2 separate regions of the Homo sapiens genome follow, and region 2 is linked to region 1. Evidence: promoter capture Hi-C in 16 types of primary human blood cells and fetal thymus (Javierre and others, 2016). All regions are on one chromosome and are shown on one strand. The core of a region is centred on a gene start or on the middle of the fragment in contact, and the rest is flanking DNA. Distances in the headings are between cores, read along the strand shown. Region 1 holds the start of ZNF516 (zinc finger protein 516). Region 2 holds the start of LOC107985151 (a long non-coding RNA gene).

Region 1 (2,990 bases), core at 209-2,708:
CAGGCTCTTATTTGCATTTCAAATTCCACAGGTTACACCAGTCGCCTTTTCAAAAAATGTAAACCAACAATGCAGCAGCAAATGGCTTTTTGTGCATCTGGATTAAATAAAGCACAGAATGAATATATTTAAAAAGAGGGCTGCGCAAGTTGATCTTTGCACACCCGGAGACCCGGTGACTCTTTATCAGCGGAATGAGTAAGACACACACACAGCCCCCAGAGCTCCCGGTCTGCTGCGGGAAGCTTATTAACGCTGATAATAGATGAGGCTGACTTACAGACCCACATTTTTCGGGTAAAAGGCTGGTTCCCTCTGGTCCCTAATTGCGGGGGTCCACTGGCTTTCCTCACCACACACATAAACTGCTGCTTTTAAATACCCCACTCGGCTGCCATTTAACAAACTTATTCATACAAAGTTTCGTTAAAACTTGAGGCGGTTTAATCTAAATACTGATCGTAACTATTCAGTCTGTTAGTTCTCCCTGGAAATGGCAGCGGAGGCGCCTCCCCCCACCTCCCGCCCAACCACACACACCCCACCGCATTCTTCCTTCATACACCCGGGTTCATCTCGCCACCGAGGCCTCCCCCACCCGCACCCGGCGGGGCGCAGCTCCGAGGAGTCCCTGCCCACCCCTCTCCGAGTCGGTGCCAGACCCTCGCCCCCACCCCCACCCCCGCCCGAACTTCCCTTCCAGGACCTCTCACTTCTTTAACGTTAGGGTCACTTAGAAGCTCCCAGCAGACTGGCAAGCAGCCGGGGAGGGGGCCGTAAAAAACAAGGCCACCCCCACCTCCACGCAAACACGTCCCCTAGGCAGCAGCGCGCGGTGCCCACAGGCATCGATCCCATCCGCCAAACCCTTAATAATTGAAGCGGCTCCTCGGGCCCGCAGCCCCATCACCCACCTTCATTAGCCGGAGCGTTTTACTTTAAAGTAAGGCAATTTGCTCTTTGTCTCCTAATGGATGGAGAGCGCATCCGAGCTCCCCTCCTCCCGCGTCGCCTTTGACAAAGTGTACAAAGCCAGAGCCTCTTCCGCGCTCCCACCCCGGCCCCCACCCCGCCCCTCCACTGCGGTAAAAACCACCTCCCGGGCGCTCGCCCCGCCGCCCGAAGTTGCATCTTCCCCTATCCTGGAATTGACGAGCAGAGCAACTACCCACCGGGAAAGCCAAGTAGCCCTCCCCGCGCCCGGGGGGCCCCTCCCCGGCGCACCCCCCTCCCCAGCGCCTCCCCCCCTACCCCCAGCGGCGCACACCAGAGTACGGGGCACGTCGGGGCTCCGGGCCCCGCGCCCACCGCCCGCCCGCGGCCCCTGCGGCGCAGCCCTCCCCCCGCCCGCGGCCCCTACCTTGGCAGGGAGGCGGCGGGCCTGGGGAGGAGGACGCGCACGCCCCGCGCATCTGAAGGTGAAGCCGAGCGCCCGCGGCGCGGAGCCGAGCGCTGCACTAGACCGACCGCGCCAGCTGCGCCCGGGCGCGGGGGACGCGCGAGGGCGCGCGGGGCCCGCCACGCGCCCGGCCCCCTCCTCGCGCCGCCCGCGCGCGCCCCGGACGCGTCCGCCCCGCGGGGGCCCCGGCGCGAGCCGGGCTCGGGGGGCTGCGCGGCACGGGGAGGGGGCCGGGCGCTCACGGCCCGGCGCAGGCCGGAGGCTTCCCCCAGCCTGGAAATGGTCTGCCCTGTAGGAAACGCACACTCCACTATTGTCTCATCAGCACAAAGTTCTGCCACACTGAGGGGACAGTCTGGAGGCTTGCAGTGACTCAGACACAGCCAATTCCTCCCCTAATAGCACTGAATCACGGTTCCAGCGGCCAGTGGTCGCCCCTCGTCAAGGTCTAAGGCTGCTGCAGCCCCGGCTCCCGGAGGCCGTTTCCGCGCGCACACGCGCATCCATACGTACAGACGTGCTCGGGATGCGGGTCCCGCCGGCGGGTACCTGGGCACTGCGCCCCATCTGGACTGAAATGGGGACACCCCTTCGGGGGTCCCAGGTGCGTGTGCATTACACACGGCGTAGCGTGTGCGTGTCACTCAACTTCCTGGTAAATGCCTCTGGGGGTGTTCAGATGCAGGATCAATACATTAAGTCCTGAATCAAGGGTCACAGAGGTCCCGCTGGAAAGACTTCAAACAGCGGCTCTGCCACCCGGCCATTTAAAAATGAAGGGGTTGTTTACCGGTAGCCTCGAAAGTTCAACTCTTATTTTTCTGTTCTTAAAACTTCATTTCTTCACCTCACCTACTCCCCACGAGCAGTAGTTAGTTGTAATAAGTTGAGTCTGGGACTAGAAATCCTAATTTGACTCCAAAACGCTCTCCTGTTACAGGGCAGGGATGGCCGGGGTGGGGGAGGGGAGGGCGGGCGCGCGGGGGCGGGGGAGGGGCGGGTCGGAGCTAGCGAGGGCGAGCGCCCCTTCACGGCCGGTGACGTAGACCCGGGGAGCTGCGGCCTGCGGAGGGGTAACACTATCTTCTCCCACCAGGCTCCTGGCCGTATTGTTCTCCTTCTCCTCGTGATAACTCCGCAGTGGAGGTGGATTCCGTCCAAGACGCCCAACGTGGCTCCGCGTAGCAATCAGCGCTGCAATCCTGGCGGTTACCTCAGCGGCGGCGTCTCTCTCTGCGCCTCACACTCGCAGCCCGCGGCCCTCCCCAACTTAGGGCGTTTACAAAAGAAACTACTCCAGACGCGCTGCAAAGGGAGGCGCATGTGCCCGAAAGCTGGCGATCAGACGGGGGGGGCATTCTGCATGTGTGATGTTTCTGGGGGCGGTGGGGAGTGTGTGTCGGGGTCGGGGGGCGGGGGGGAGTCAGGCAGAAAGACAGGGACAACCTCCGCTATGAAGGATCCGCGAGTCCTCAAATGTAAGCTCCGTGTGACTAACGACCTGCACTGATTTGGAGAGCGGGCATGTTAAAGGTCACGGACAATTGTTGCTGGCTTCAGCATGAATGCCTAAGTGGGATGTATTCTTCAG
Region 2 (2,990 bases), core at 308-2,807, 160 kb after region 1:
ACACAATATATAAAGGGAAGAAAACTGAAATCAGAAAAAGAAAGAAAAAGAACTTTCAGAAATATATGTTCTATTTAACACAGTGGATTGACCAGATGGATTTTATCTTCTCTTTTACCTAAAGCTCTGCATAATAGTTTTAAAGATATTATTCATAATAACAAAGAAAATGAGAGGAAAAACAGCAGCCAGTGAGATATTTCAACAAGGTACAGAAAGCAGGAACAGATGAGAGGTGGTAAAGTACAGGGAACGTGTCTACAGCTGAAGATGTGGACAGGAAGAGGTCGTTTACCACAAGGAGCCCAACAAAAAGGGTCTCCTTCCATAGCTGGGCCACAGGGGGAGCTCTTGCCCTCCTTCTCCATCTCACAGGGGTGGGGGCGCTCCATGCAGGGGGCCCAGGAAGAGTTTCCTCAGTGCAGGAGCCCCTGACCACCTGCTCCCAGACAATCAGAAGCCATGGGTGGGCGGCCTTCCCCCGACAGGGGAAATGAATGATGCCCCTAGCCCACAGGCCCTGCCGTGACTCAGTCTGGTTTTTAGTACCTTGGTCGTCAATGTGAAAGGACAGTCTAGCACCACAAAAGATTTGATTTAAAAAAAATAATGAAAGTTACAAAAATTAACATAGAGGAAGCAGTCTATAAAGAGAGCAGAAAAAAACTTTTAAAAAATCTATATTAACATCCTTAGGCAAATGCTGCATTCATAAAACAGCAAGATGAACGCACACGTGCACGCAGACAGAGACTAAATCACAGCTCCTGGAATTTGTAGGAATGACAACTAAAATAAAACAAAATTTCTGGCCAGGCGCAGTGGCTCACGCCTGTAATCCCAGCACTTTGGGAGGCTGAGGCGGGTGGATTACAAGGTCAAGAGATCGAGATCATCCTGGCCAACATGGGGAAACCCCATCTCTACTAAAAATACAAAAATTAGCTGGGCGTGGTGGCGGGCACCTGTAGTCCCAGCTACTCAGGAGGCTGAGACAGGAGAATAGCTTGAACCCAGGGGGCAGAGGTTGCAGTGAGCTGAGATCGCGACACTGCACTCCAGCATGGCGACAGAGCGAGACTCCGTCTCAAAAAAAAAAAATTCTGTAGAAGGTCTGAAGGATGAAGTCAAGTAAAAGTTCACAGAACTAACAAGTGCCCAAATGTAAGAGACCTGCCAAGGACCAGCAGAATGAAAGGAGACATGATCACAGGTCTGTCGTCATGGAATTCCAAGACGCCATCATTCAATAGATGATCTTGAGGGCTTTAAAATGGGAACAACAAACAAGCAGCTCCCAGGTGAAAAGGCATTAGAATGGAAGTGAGTTGCTCAGTCGCAGGGAGGCTGGAAGATGCCGCAGTGCCTTCAATATGGTCACTGTGGCCTGTATTGCAGCCTGGGAGACACAGCTGCCCAGGAGTTGATCTTTGTTGAGGCTGCATGGTGCGTGTTCACAGGGGTCCATTATGCTACTCTCTCTTTTTTTTATATATGTTTAGAGTTTCAAAAATAGAAATTTTAGGACCTACTGTGAAAACCAGCCAAAAACAACAAGGCAACAATAGGAGAAAGTGAATGAAGCCAGCGTTGCCGGTACACACAGATGACGTAAATGGATCGGGTCAGTGGTCAACACCAAAAGAACGGCCTGGAGGAGGGTCTGGCTCTATTGGACATTTTCTTTGATAAAAATAAAAAGTAAATAGGGAAATGCTAAGTGGAAAGCTATAGTAAAACTGTAGTTTTATATCAAACCATAAAACATGAAGGTAAAATAAAGACGTGTAGTCCTGCCGGGCCCTCAGAACCGTGCCCCTCTGCACCCTTCTTAGGATGCTACTGAAGGATGCCTACCTTCTGGAGGAGAAGAGGAAGGCCCCAACCCTGGGAAACAGGGTCCCACAGATAACAGTAACAGTGGGAGGGTCCAGGAGTGACTTCAGCTGCTCATCAGGTCCAGGGAGCGATCAGTCCAGGCTGATCTGCCCCTCCAAACACTCCATCTGCCCCCCGCCCCATCTCCCTTCCCATCTGTCTACAAGAACACAAAGAGGGGCGAAGATAAGGCAAAGGGATGGGGCTGTGGGTCCTAGGTGCAGTAGACACAGCTATGGCTCCCAATCAGGTGTCTCTCCCAAAACCAAGTTCATGGGGTGCACACCAAATGGGGACTCACAGTGATTAGAGCTGTTTTCATAGGAGAGAGGGGTCCCAATCCCCAGGGAGATGCTGGCCCAGCCAATCCAGTTGTATTTGGAGGGAGAGACCAGAATGGGGAGGAGGAGCAGGCAGAGGATGTCTGTACCAGCTGCCATCACTGTCTCCACTGTGAGGATGGTTCATTTTCCTTCACCAGTTGGCCTCCTTGGGAAGTAGCCAGGAATGGTTGGTGCCTCTTCCAAGAAGGCCTGGCAGCACGAGGGGCTTGTTGCAGCAAGAGGCTGGGGGTGAACAGCCTCAGGCAGGTGGGGCCCCGCCCTGGAGGGGCTGGGGACAGAGTTGGAACAGGCCATCTGGAGTCAGCTTACCTCTTTAGGGACACGAACAGGGACACCCCTCACCCGTACACTGCGTACATCCATACTCTGAAGAATTCACGCCATGCCCAGGGGGGACCAGCATCCAGCCCCCTGTATTGGTGTGTCACCTGTGTTTGCCACAAGAACGGCAACATCCAAACTTCATCTTCCTGAAGTCACAATTCAGCTAGATCACAAAAACAGGGTCTTCGCGAGTGGTGCAGCTGTAAGGTGGCAAAGCGTATGAGGACTCCACAGCACAGGAGAAATAACAAACACTCATATACTGCCAGGTCTACTAGGTGAAGGAAAAAGGTTTTTAAAACTCCCTTTCTGAAAGAGGAAAGCAAAACAACAGAATGTATATATTTTTAATGTTTGAATTAATTATCTTTGCTGAAGAATGCTTCTGTGAACATCAAACTTGCATAACCTCCATATAGATGCACGGGTGGAAAAGCAAATTAA

Evidence for each region. The method cuts DNA at HindIII sites, captures the fragments that hold promoters and counts their contacts. A CHiCAGO score of 5 or more calls a contact.
Region 2: a fragment that was not itself captured here is called in contact with the fragment with the promoter of ZNF516 in region 1 in 4 of 17 cell types (M0 macrophages, monocytes, M2 macrophages and 1 more); the score reaches 7.9 in M0 macrophages.

The regions. Positions count from the first base shown.
Region 1 is chr18:76,493,784-76,496,773 of GRCh38, forward strand. ZNF516 (zinc finger protein 516) reads right to left here and starts at 1,459. Exons shown (of 7, transcript NM_014643.4): 1 at 1,361-1,459. ZNF516-DT (ZNF516 divergent transcript) reads left to right here and starts at 1,556. Exons shown (of 2, transcript NR_164145.1): 1 at 1,556-2,003; 2 at 2,496-2,990. It overlaps ZNF516-AS1 (ZNF516 antisense RNA 1), which reads left to right. Exons shown (of 2, transcript NR_136504.1): 2 at 1-135. RefSeq lists silencers at 489-578, 1,279-1,378, 1,509-1,568. The HindIII fragment of the contact is 7,170 bases long and covers 244-2,990 here.
Region 2 is chr18:76,658,433-76,661,422 of GRCh38, forward strand. LOC107985151 (a long non-coding RNA gene) reads right to left here and starts at 2,936. Exons shown (of 3, transcript XR_001753506.1): 1 at 2,532-2,936. RefSeq lists an enhancer at 275-776. The HindIII fragment of the contact is 3,630 bases long and covers 1-2,990 here.